2 separate regions of the Homo sapiens genome follow, and region 1 is linked to region 2. Evidence: promoter capture Hi-C in 16 types of primary human blood cells and fetal thymus (Javierre and others, 2016). All regions are on one chromosome and are shown on one strand. The core of a region is centred on a gene start or on the middle of the fragment in contact, and the rest is flanking DNA. Distances in the headings are between cores, read along the strand shown. Region 1 overlaps SLC22A3 (solute carrier family 22 member 3). Region 2 holds the start of FNDC1 (fibronectin type III domain containing 1).

Region 1 (5,410 bases), core at 2,391-4,890, 1.3 Mb after region 2:
GGATTTGAGAAAGTTGTACAGAAATGTGTTCATCAAATCTGGTCAAGGGACTAAGCTCCTAGCTGACCATTCATTCTGAAGATTGCATGGAGGATGAACATCTGGGAATCCTGTTAATGAGAAGGCTGAATCACAGGCACCTGGGCCAAAGGGTGTGAGCATTCATGTTCTCTGCTCACCTTGGTTTCCGCACACCTTCGCAATGTGAACAGGTCAGGAGTCCCTCCCGTCCACCTCCTCTGTAACAGCTGGGGTTCCAGGCATGGTTTAGGCCCTGTTCCAGCAATAAGAACCAATCTGCTGTACAATCTGAGGACTTGGCTCTGTTATTTACAAAATGATGCTGTGGTTCTGAGATTATTTGGGACATTTTTGGCTCTCCTTTAGTGGACACCTAGAGCCACAGATTCCCTTCTTTACTAAACAAATCCCATGGATTCTGATTTCTGGGTCTTAGGATTTTAAAAGTGAAGGGATATTTTTCTTATATTTGTGAGTTCAGTTCCGATGGTGCCCGTGGTCAAAAGCGAAAAACATGGACAATTCCTATTCATTCTTAGCACTTTGACATGTCTTGGGGAAAAGCTTACATTTTAATTTAAAAGAAAGATCAATTATATCCATGCTTAACAGGATCAGCAGGAGCTTTATAAATGACTTTACAGAGACTAATAAGGGATTTGATCTTTCTTTTTTTGTTATCGAGGCTTTTGAAATGTGGAACTTGTGTGTTCTGCTTTATATGTTATATTCAATATCTTTTCAGATGCAGTCTATATTTTATGCTGAGTTTTAAAAATGAAATACTTTATGCAAACAGGCAAAATTGGTACCAAAGGGAAACATTAACCATGAGGAAGAGCATTTTTCTAAGGAGAACAGGTGACAATATACACATGTGCGCTAATCGTAAAATGAGCATCTTAGTCTTTAAAACACATCAGAATTGAATACGAATAATCTATTTGTCGATGAAATAAACACAACTCTTTGAGGATTTGAGACTACATTCACCCTTTATTCACAGTCACTTGCAGTTTTGCTTTTCTCTGCATTTCTCTGCTGTAAGATGACTGTTGCATTGTTGAATTGTATTTTGAGTGGATATTTTTGTTTGGTAACAATTAAAATTTTAAATCGTAAAAAATGTACATTTGCCCTTTCTCTTCCTTCTAAACATGTGTCTCTCCCACAGGTCATTCTCCTGTGACACGTGTACTGCAGAGTGTTTCAAAACCGGGCAGGCAATTAGCAATGGGAAATAAGTGGTCCACCTTCAATATTTGCTTGTTGTTCATTTACATGCTCTTGGCACCAATCCTAGACTCACGTGTGCCCCAGAATAACATTCAGACTCTCAGCTGGTCTTGTGTTACACATCCATGGACCGGTTCACTCCATCATATACAGCTCTCTGCTCCGTGTCCCCTGGGCTCAAGTCAAGCAGTCGGTGACAGATTTCATTCCCAATAACAGAATCGGTTTGCATGACTCCCCATACATGTTGCAGCTTTGAAAACATTCATCTCAGAGTTAGGTATAAAGACATAAAAATGTGTGTCAAGCCCTCGTTAGCTGATGAGGTAAATGCATGGACAACTTCCTAGGACTTCTCGGCTCTGCCCTCTGTGACCTTGCAGCCTGCTCAGGTCTTTGTGCTCTGTTCCTTATCAAAAACAGCACAACCCCCTCAATCTGCCCATTTAAAAATTGGTGGAGTGAACAAAGAGCATGAAAATGTTGAAGACCACAACCAAAATTTACTCAAATCAAAGTTAAGTACAGAGTTTATTTTTAACAAATGTCATAGCTATGTCACCTTACTACAGAATCCAGCAGTCAGAAAATAACACAAAAAATGCCGAGGTTTGGCGTAGCTGGTAGCTGGGGACAGTGTCTTCGTTTGATTACTGCCAGTTATTTCCAGCATGCTAAATCCCTACCCACGTTCCAGCCTCTAGGTGAGTCAGTGCGTCACTCTGTCTCCCGTCCAATTAATTATTTCTCATCACTCCCTCAATCCAAGTAACAAACCTTGAAACACGAACATAGACACCAGGCTTATTGGGGCGTGCACAGCCAAGACCCCAAGAAGTGACTCCTTGTAAAATGTATTTGTCCTTCTCAAAGCAAACCAGAGGCCCTCCACTGTCACCCTAAATAGAGGTAGGGAAAAATTCATGTGAGGGTTAGGCTGCCAGCCTTTTATTGTGGCATCCATCTATTGTCCATATGTATATTTTCCCAGTAATTGAAATTGGAAAGGAACTTATGGGCATATTACTGGAGCATCTGCAGTGCTTAAGTACTTAGCAAAATCTATTCAGCGAAACCACACCACTTAGTTTCTCCCAGGGGTAAAAAAAACCCTTGTGAATCCTGCACACATCCCTTCCTGTGTTGGTGTTTCCTTTAGACTGGCCTAGCCTGGGCATCACTGTAAAGTATGTGCAGTTGGTCTCTGTCCTGTACCCTCTACCTCCTTCCCTGTCGGAAAAGTCACCACTTTAGTCCCTGGCCACCAGCACACCCCAGGAGGGTGAGTGGCCTGAGGTAGTTACGGCACTTAAAACTCCCTTGCTACCGATCTGGAACTCAAGCCCCAAGACATCCCCTTAGATGATCTGAATACGCATTCAGGGACAGATCTAGGCAGTTTCTAAACAACACTTAGACTGGGGTCTAACGTTGACAAATCCTTCTAGAATTTGCCTCTTTGGGACTGAAGTCTAAGGGGCTGAGACCAAGAAGGGAGAGCACAAGACTAACTTTGGTCTCTTGACCTTTTCTTACCTTGCAACTGTCAGTGCCTCCAGCCAAATGCCTAGCACAGAGCTCAGTGGATTTGATTCTTCCATTCAGATACTCATAGCGATTGCACACTTTATTCTCAATCACAAGAAGCTGGGGCTTCCTTGAGAAGGCCAGCCCCAAAGGTACCTGTGTTTAAAAGATGAAAGAAATGGTTGCTGAACCCAAAACATGTTTAGGAGGAAAACCAGAAGAACAGAGCAGTGGCACTGGACCTCCTGTCTGTCCGTGAGGCTGCAGAACACAAGGCAGCTCCCAATGCCGCTGGACTCTCTGACCTTGGAGAGTGTAAACATCATATATGATTCTGTGTTCCTGAGATCTGGGTTTAACGATCTGGGCTTTGTCATGGTGTTTTACGTTCGTTGTTGTTTGTGTACTTTTTGCTTTTCTTTTGAAAGTATGAAAATGATTTTTACAATGTAAAGAGAGTCTGAGAAATGCAATTGCTATTCTTTTTATATACTTTTTCAGATTTTTTATATGCTTCTTTACTACTTACATCATAATGCACAATTTTATATACTGATTTTTTCAATCAATGTATATCATGAGTTTTTAAAATAATGCTACAATCTTCATAACTAATATTTTAATGGGGAGTGACTGCTTAATTGGCATGAGGTTTCCTTTTGAGATGAGGAAAATGTTCTGAAAATATGGTGATGGTTGCACACCATTGTGAATGTACTGAATGCCATTCAGTGGTACCCTGCAAAATAATTAAAATCCTAACTCTTATGTTGTGTATATTTTATTGCAATAAAAAGAATAGTCGTCATTTACTAAGAATTAACCTTTTCAGGCACAAGCTCTTAATGTGGTGTATCTCACTTCATCCTCACAACCGTCCTATGAAACAGGCACTTTTATCATTCCTGTTCTACAGCTGAGGAAACTGAGGTGTAAGGAGGTTGTGTAGTTCAGCTTGAGCCTGGGTCTGCGGAGTCACTGCCCAAATGCTTCCTCCCCGTGCACACTGGCCCCACTCTTGCTTCCAATCTTCCACATGTTTGTTCATAAAGTTCATTCTCGTTTCTTTTCTGAAGTCTAAGTTCCCATAATTATGTTGACATATTTCCATCTCGCGGTAACACTCCCAAATTATTTTCTAAAAGTGTGTGACAGTATAAAATGTTACTGGAAACAATTCTCCTCACCCTTGTGAGTATTCAATTTTTAAAAGATTAGCTAACATAGTAGGTGGAAATTGTCCTGATTCATTTTCTGATTTACACTTCCTTGACAATTAGGGAGAAGAAATACAACTAGGGACAATTCTCCTAGTTGTAGTTTTTCTTTTGTGAAAAACTGCTTTATTTCCTTTGCCAAATTGAAACAGAACATCTGCTAAACTGCCAGAGGGAATGCTGTTTTTCCAGATGGACACGCCAAGGATGTCTCAGTGCTCTCACAAATAATCGTTTTCCAATTTTGCAAGCCCAGCTTTGATTAGAATTTCTCAAAATATTTTGCTTTGCGAGCATGACACAGGCAAAAGCTGAGGCACTCTTTCTTTCTTCCCCCAAAGTGTTGGACTGCACTTAGATCATTGTCTCAGGTTCAGAAAACTGACACTGAATCTGGAGTTTACATGAGCAGCGTAGAAGAGGCTCTTCCCAGAGCCTGGCTCCAGAGCCCAGCTCAGCCCTAGCCGGGAAGGAGCTGCATGGAGGAAGCTCCTCCTGGCTACCAAGCATCGGGCAGGGGGTGCATGACGTGGACTGTGTAGATGGGTGAGGGAGCACCCTTTTCAAAATATTTTGCTGAAAATTAAGTTAGATATCACTGCTCTCAGATCTGCTCTCAGAGCAAGGCAAACATCCTGATCAGGAGGTAAACCCACCACTAGTTGCCAGGAAATTGACGCGGTCTGTGAGTATGTGCTGCCATCCAGTGGCCAATGTAGAGATGGCACCTCTGAGGGCGGGGGGCCACGGGTGACCTTGAGGATTGAAGCCCTCCCTGATTGGGTCCTGGGGAGAGGGCCACAAGATTAGCCCAGTGATTGTGGATGGGGCTGACACGGAAGAGCCCCTTGGCCTCAACACCTACTCTGCATTTGGAATATCCAAGTCAAGGAAGGTCTGGAAACATGAAGGGGAGAGGGGGAGAATTTCGACCTCCCTCTGAGAAGCTGAGAACACCCATTGATCTGATGTCATCAACATATAGAAAATCGATAAACAGATCTGAGTTATGTTTTGTGACTCCTCCTGGTCTAGTTAGTGTTCTGAGAATCATTTTCTCAGTGGACATGTGGGTGAGACCAGAGGAGACAGGGAGCCAGTGCAGGATGGTGGTTAGAAATGTGCAGAAGGGGGTGGGAGAGAGGACACAGCGAGTGGGCTCTGGGGTCAAGGCCCGGTTACACGCCGGTTATGTGATGTTTATTTATGATGATAGTGGTGATAGTGATGGTGATAGTAGTGATAATAGTGATGATGGTGGTGGTGATGATGGTTGTGGTAATGATAATGGTGATGGTGGTGGTGATGGTGATGATGGTGGTGGTAGTGATAATGGCAATGGTGGTGATGGTGATGGTGGTGATGGCGGTGGTAGTGGTAGTAATGATGATGATGGCGGTGGTGATGGT
Region 2 (5,342 bases), core at 369-2,868:
CCTTCCAAATCCACGAATGATGGGAGAAAGAGACCTTTCCACCAGCCCGTGTTAGAAGAGTCCCAACTCTGAGTGACCCTGTCTAGGCCACTGCAGAGCCCTGAGCCAGTGGGGAAGTGGGGCTTTGGGAAGGAGTGGGAGTAAGGAGGGGGCCTGTCACTTGGTTGGAGTTGGGGAGGGAGCTACCATTCCCCCAAAATAGGCAGAGCCGGGTGGCTGCTGGTGAGACAGAAACCACACAGCTCCATTAAATGGCATGTGGGGAAACATGATAACATAAGGGAGTAATGCAGGAAAGTGTGTTTGGGCTGGGCGTGGTGGCTCACGCCTGTAATCCCAGCACTTTGGGAGGCCAAGGTGGGCGGATTGCTTGAGCTCAGGAGTTGGAGACCAGCCTGGGCAACGTGGGGAAACCCTGTCTCTACAAAACATACAAAAATGAGCTGGGCATGGTGGCTGAAACCTGTAGTCCCAGCCACTTAGGAGGCTGAGGCAGGAGAATGGCTTGAGCCTGGGATATGGTGGTTGCAGTGAGCCAAGACTGCACCACTGCACTCCAGCCTGGGCGGCAGAGGCAGAGGGAGACCCTGTCTCAAAACAAAAAGAAAAAGAAAAACAAACAAACAAAAACCTTTGCTGGGAAGCAGGAGAGTTTCCTGGAAAGGAAGGCGGTAGGTTTACACCTTTCCTGGGTGCTCAAATTCAAAGAGATACTGTATTTCTGGTTTTCATCTCTTTGCAATTCATTTACCTTTTTTTTTTCCTCTCTGCAGAACACAAATCCGGTCAAGTTTTGGGTTGTCATGAGGGAGAACTGACATAGCGCTGGGCGGTGAGTTCAGCCAGGTTATCTCTGCGAGGACACCGGTCGGCGGCGGACAGCAGCACGCGGCGTCCAGGACCCGGCCTTCCTAGAGCTTAGGTCACTGTAGCCTCCAGGGGCGCTCCGAGTCCATCTGGAGGGCCGCGAGGCTTCCAGGCTGGAAGGAGGAATAGGGAGAAGGAGGAATAGGGAGACCTGGGGCAGTGTTACAATTACAGAAAAGGGAGAGGCGAGGTCCGCTGAGTCCTTGGCCTGGGCAACAAGGCACACTGAAAACTGGGTTCCTTTTCGACCCGCATCGTGCGCGCCCTAGAAATGACAGCCAGACGGAGCAGGGTCTAAGGACGCTGAAAACCCCTGACGTGGGCGCGCCGGGTGCGGGTAGGGACGTGGAAGGACTGGGCTAGCCACAGGAACTACAGCGCTGCGGACCGGGTGAGGGGTCCCGGCCCGAGTCCCCACTTGGGGCGCAGAGGTGTTTCTGTAAGGGGACAAAGGGCACTCCTCGGCGCGATGGGCGACTTCCCCAGCCAGAAAATGAGAGGGTTAGACGAGGGGAGGAACTTCCTCAGCCACTTGGCCCGGCACAGCGACCGCCCCAAGTTCAGAACCGCTAAGTCAGTCCGGGGCGCTCCGGCCCCTTCGTCCCGCGCCCCGCCCGCCTCCAGCCCGGGCCCCGCCGCCCCCGTCGCCCCTGTCGCCCGGGTCGCCCCCGCCGGCCCTGGCCCCGGCCCCGCACACCGGCAGGGGGCGCCCGAGCGCAGCTAAAAGGCTCGGCGGGAGGTCGGCGGCCTCAGTGGCGGAGCGCGGCTGCCGGTGTGCGGCCGGGAGCGATCGCCGCGGGGCAGGGGCGCGGCGGGCACCGCGCAGAGCGCGCAGAACAGACGGACGGCGGCGGGGACCCGACGGCGGCGCCTCGGCACTCCCCAGACTCCGGCCAGCGCCCCCCTGCCAGCCGCAAGCACCCAGCCCCGGCCCACCCCGGGCTCTCGATGGCCCCCGAGGCCGGGGCGACCCTGCGCGCGCCGCGCCGGCTGTCCTGGGCGGCGCTGCTGCTCTTGGCCGCGCTGCTCCCCGTCGCCTCCTCGGCGGCGGCCTCAGGTACGCGCCGCGCCCGGGCCCCCGGCGCTCCTCAGCTCCCCGCGCACCCTCCTGCGCTCGGGCCCCGTCGTCCCGCTCAGTGCTGGCTACGGGTCGTGTCACTAGCCTGTGCGTCCTCGTCACTCGCGGGTCGGGGCACTTGGCGCCCTGTGTGGGTGGCGGGAGCGGGGACGCCTCGGTGCCCGGGGACCGCAGCGCGCTGGCGTTTAACTTTGCCGTCGCCCGCCTTGGAGTCGGGAGGCTCCAGCCGTCTAAGTGTCCCGGGAGATTCAGGCACAGCGGGGAAAAAAGGAAAAGAAAGGCGACTTTCAGCGTGCGGACTGGGGTAATGCCTTTCTTTGCCCAGAATTTCTCGGGAGCGTAGGTGGTCATCCTACTTTCTCCGCGTTCACCTCTCGCGAGGCAGGATGACGGGCGCACTCGGGAGACCGGAGGGAGGCAGAGCAGGGCTGTTCTAGAAGGTCGTGGGGGAAAGGCTGCGAGCTGCCGCAGGGCGTCGGGTGCCTCTGCGCTCCAGAGGAGAAGCGCTCCAGTGCCAGCTCGGCTCCAGGCGGCAGGAGGCCCGCGCGCCCGGGGGGAACGTTCAAGCTGGGAGAAAATGTTTGTCTTGAGAGGAGGGAGAGGGAAATGAGAAAGCTGATTCCAGAGAAACTCGCCCTTCCCCAATGGCTGAGGCTGCAGCCAGGATGGATGCTTCCTTTGAGAGCAATGCTTTTCAGAAAATGCTAGCGCGCTCCTGTCAGATTTCTTGCAAGCTTCCTGCAGAGAGAGACAAGTTTGTGGCGAGGTTTTCATTCCTAAGCCTTTGGCGGCCCTTGTTACCACCTCCTTTGCAGGCATTTTTACACTTGAAACTGGCTTTTAGGTTATTGGTTTGTAGAAATCCAAGAAGCAGACAATGATCGTCAGATACTATTCCAACGAGGGTACCAGTTTTATGATGCTATTTAGTGTATATATTGTTCTCTTACTTCAGGGGTAAAGGAAGAAAAGTTGGGGATCACATTACTTTGTGACTTTTTGGTAGATACATCATCCCAATGCTTGGCTCAGGTTTATGCGAGGTATTCTGATGCCAATGCCACTTTCTCATAAAAGGCAGTGCCTGCCGTAGGGTCTTTTTCTTCCCATTAGTGAACTCTAGGAAAGTATTCACTGAATACTTTGCACAGTACTTGAGAGGAATAAAACTAAATAAAGTCTTCCAACTTCCCCACCTACAACTCCTGGCTTTTGTTTTTCTAAGTGAAAATTTTCAGAGTGCTGGAAGAGTTTTTGTTTCTGAAAATGATCTGAAACTGGAACCAGTGCTGCCCTGGCTTTGTGGCGATTCCAGCCTTCTGCTTTTCCGATTCCTCTGCCACCTGCCCGTGGGTTGCATGTGAGTGGGTCCGAGCGGGGTTGTTTGTGAGAGCTCCTGGAATCCCACCGCGATCTGCACTCTTGCTTTTTCGCCTTCTGCTCTGTGAATCACTGTGCTGAGGAATGCTGGGGCTGGACAGCTTCCCAGCCCTTCTCTCTACTGTGTTGACGTGGGATCTACAGTCAAATGATGACCAGACTAGAGGTGGACAAAGGAGGACAGGCACATTTCAGAATGAAATCTACTAAATTTAAATTAAGTAATAGAAGGATAGAAACAGACATAGCAACCTGTAGATAGCTCCCCATGCTGTGGATGAAATTATGGGGTACATAACTTCTTTCATGGGCTCCCTTTGACAGCAACGTCATGGATAGACTGCTCCCTCTCTCTGGTTGAACTAATGCATGGACCAAGCGAGCTGCTTGTGTCAAGCTCTCCCCTTCACCACCCTTTTGGGGCCAGAATCTCTGTAAGGAAATTACCCACGGCCACATAATAGTGGCTCCGAGGGACTTTGCTTAAAGCAGGACACACTGAAGATCTGGATAAGCCCTTCAGTGTAGGGTCAATTAAACATAAAACAAAATAAGCAAGCAGTGTCCCCTCCTCCACTCATATTCATCCCTACAATAGGATACTATGCAAACATTAAAATTATGATGGCCTTGCCAGTCTGGTATGATACATTTTTCTAAACACATGTGGATGTACTCACACATGCACATATTTGCAGTGGGTATCTTAGGATGGTTAGGGATGATTTTTATTTTCTTCTTTAAAGAAGCTTTTAGGGAATTTTCCATGTCAAAACTATTTTCAAAGTAATACTAAGATTACTAAGATGCTATTTTCCTTTTTCACAGTTGACATTTGCACTGAGGGTGCAAAAGCTTGATGGGTAAACTGCGGGTGTCTTACTGAGAATCAAGGCAGGGACATCACCATGCACTAGTAGTCTTTGAATTTTGGGGGGACTTTGCAGTTAAAAAAAATTTGCCAGTTTCATTAAGAATGTTCTTGATGCCACAGTAAAATTATTAATTTTACCAAATCTTTGTATCTTTGAGTGTATGTCTTTTTAATAGTGTAAATAAATGGGAAGGACACATAAGTTACTACTGCTGATGACCAAGTTCAGTGGCAACCCCAGGGGGAAGCACTGGTGTGATTGTTTGTGTTATGCATTAAGCTAGCTGGTTTTTTAAAATGGAATGTGGTATTTACCACAAAGAATGACAACAGACAAACTAGAGCTATTCTGACTTGGGTATTTGGCCGATGTTTTCTCAAAAATGAACAAAGGGAACTTGCTACTTCTAGTAAAATAACTGCTATTATTGCTTGCCAATGATAACATTTCAGCTTTCAAGTGAAAATCAGAATTTTGCCAAGTTGTTTCCACCACTGTAAGCTTGAAAGTTTCCCAATATTTAAATTTTTTTCTAGTGAGATCAATGGTGATATAAATGAATGTGATTTGTAAATGTCATCTCATAAAATGTGTCAACATTTGGATGATCTGCATAACCAAATAAACCAATAGATCCAAATGACCAGTGTATAGCCTTACAACAATCTTGCATGGGTAAAAGGTCTGTTCAAAGTGCATGATAGCCCAATGGATTTTTAATGTAACAAAATATGAAAAATTCTTCATATGATTTCAGATTCTAAGAATTGGCTACTTGATGAATTTTGGTGTAATATCAAAGATTTTTCAAAATTATCCAAAAAGGCTATTGAAATAGTTGTCCAGCTACACATCTGTGTGAGGCTGGGTTTTCTCCAAGCAAAACGACATATTGCAATAGATTGAATGCATAAGCAGATCGGAGATATTCTATTAAAAAGATTTGCCAAAATGTAGAAACAAAGCTGCTCTTCTCACTCATTTCTCTTTGTTTTGGGAAACAGTTACTTTTCATATAAATATATTTGTATGTCAACATGTAATGGTTTATTATTGTTTTTTAAAATAAATAAGTACATATTTTCGTTTTAATTCCCAGTAAAGTCAATAAGGATAGATAAAACTCACAGAAACATAACCTC

The links. Contacts are between HindIII fragments. The CHiCAGO score rates a contact against its expected background, and 5 or more counts as called.
Region 1: a fragment that was not itself captured here is called in contact with the fragment with the promoter of FNDC1 in region 2 in 1 of 17 cell types (total B cells); the score reaches 7.6 in total B cells.

Annotation. Positions count from the first base shown.
Region 1 is chr6:160,451,431-160,456,840 of GRCh38, forward strand. SLC22A3 (solute carrier family 22 member 3) reads left to right here. Exons shown (of 11, transcript NM_021977.4): 11 at 1-1,147. Among named protein-coding and RNA genes, the nearest start is that of SLC22A3, 110 kb to the left of the region's middle. The HindIII fragment of the contact is 6,115 bases long and covers 584-5,410 here.
Region 2 is chr6:159,167,782-159,173,123 of GRCh38, forward strand. It overlaps FNDC1 (fibronectin type III domain containing 1), which reads left to right and starts at 1,619. Exons shown (of 23, transcript NM_032532.3): 1 at 1,619-1,924. The coding sequence starts at 1,816. It overlaps FNDC1-AS1 (FNDC1 antisense RNA 1), which reads right to left and starts at 2,226. Exons shown (of 4, transcript NR_121668.1): 1 at 2,031-2,226; 2 at 752-980. RefSeq lists a silencer at 1,498-1,667 and an enhancer at 2,474-2,973. The HindIII fragment of the contact is 8,244 bases long and covers 1-2,677 here.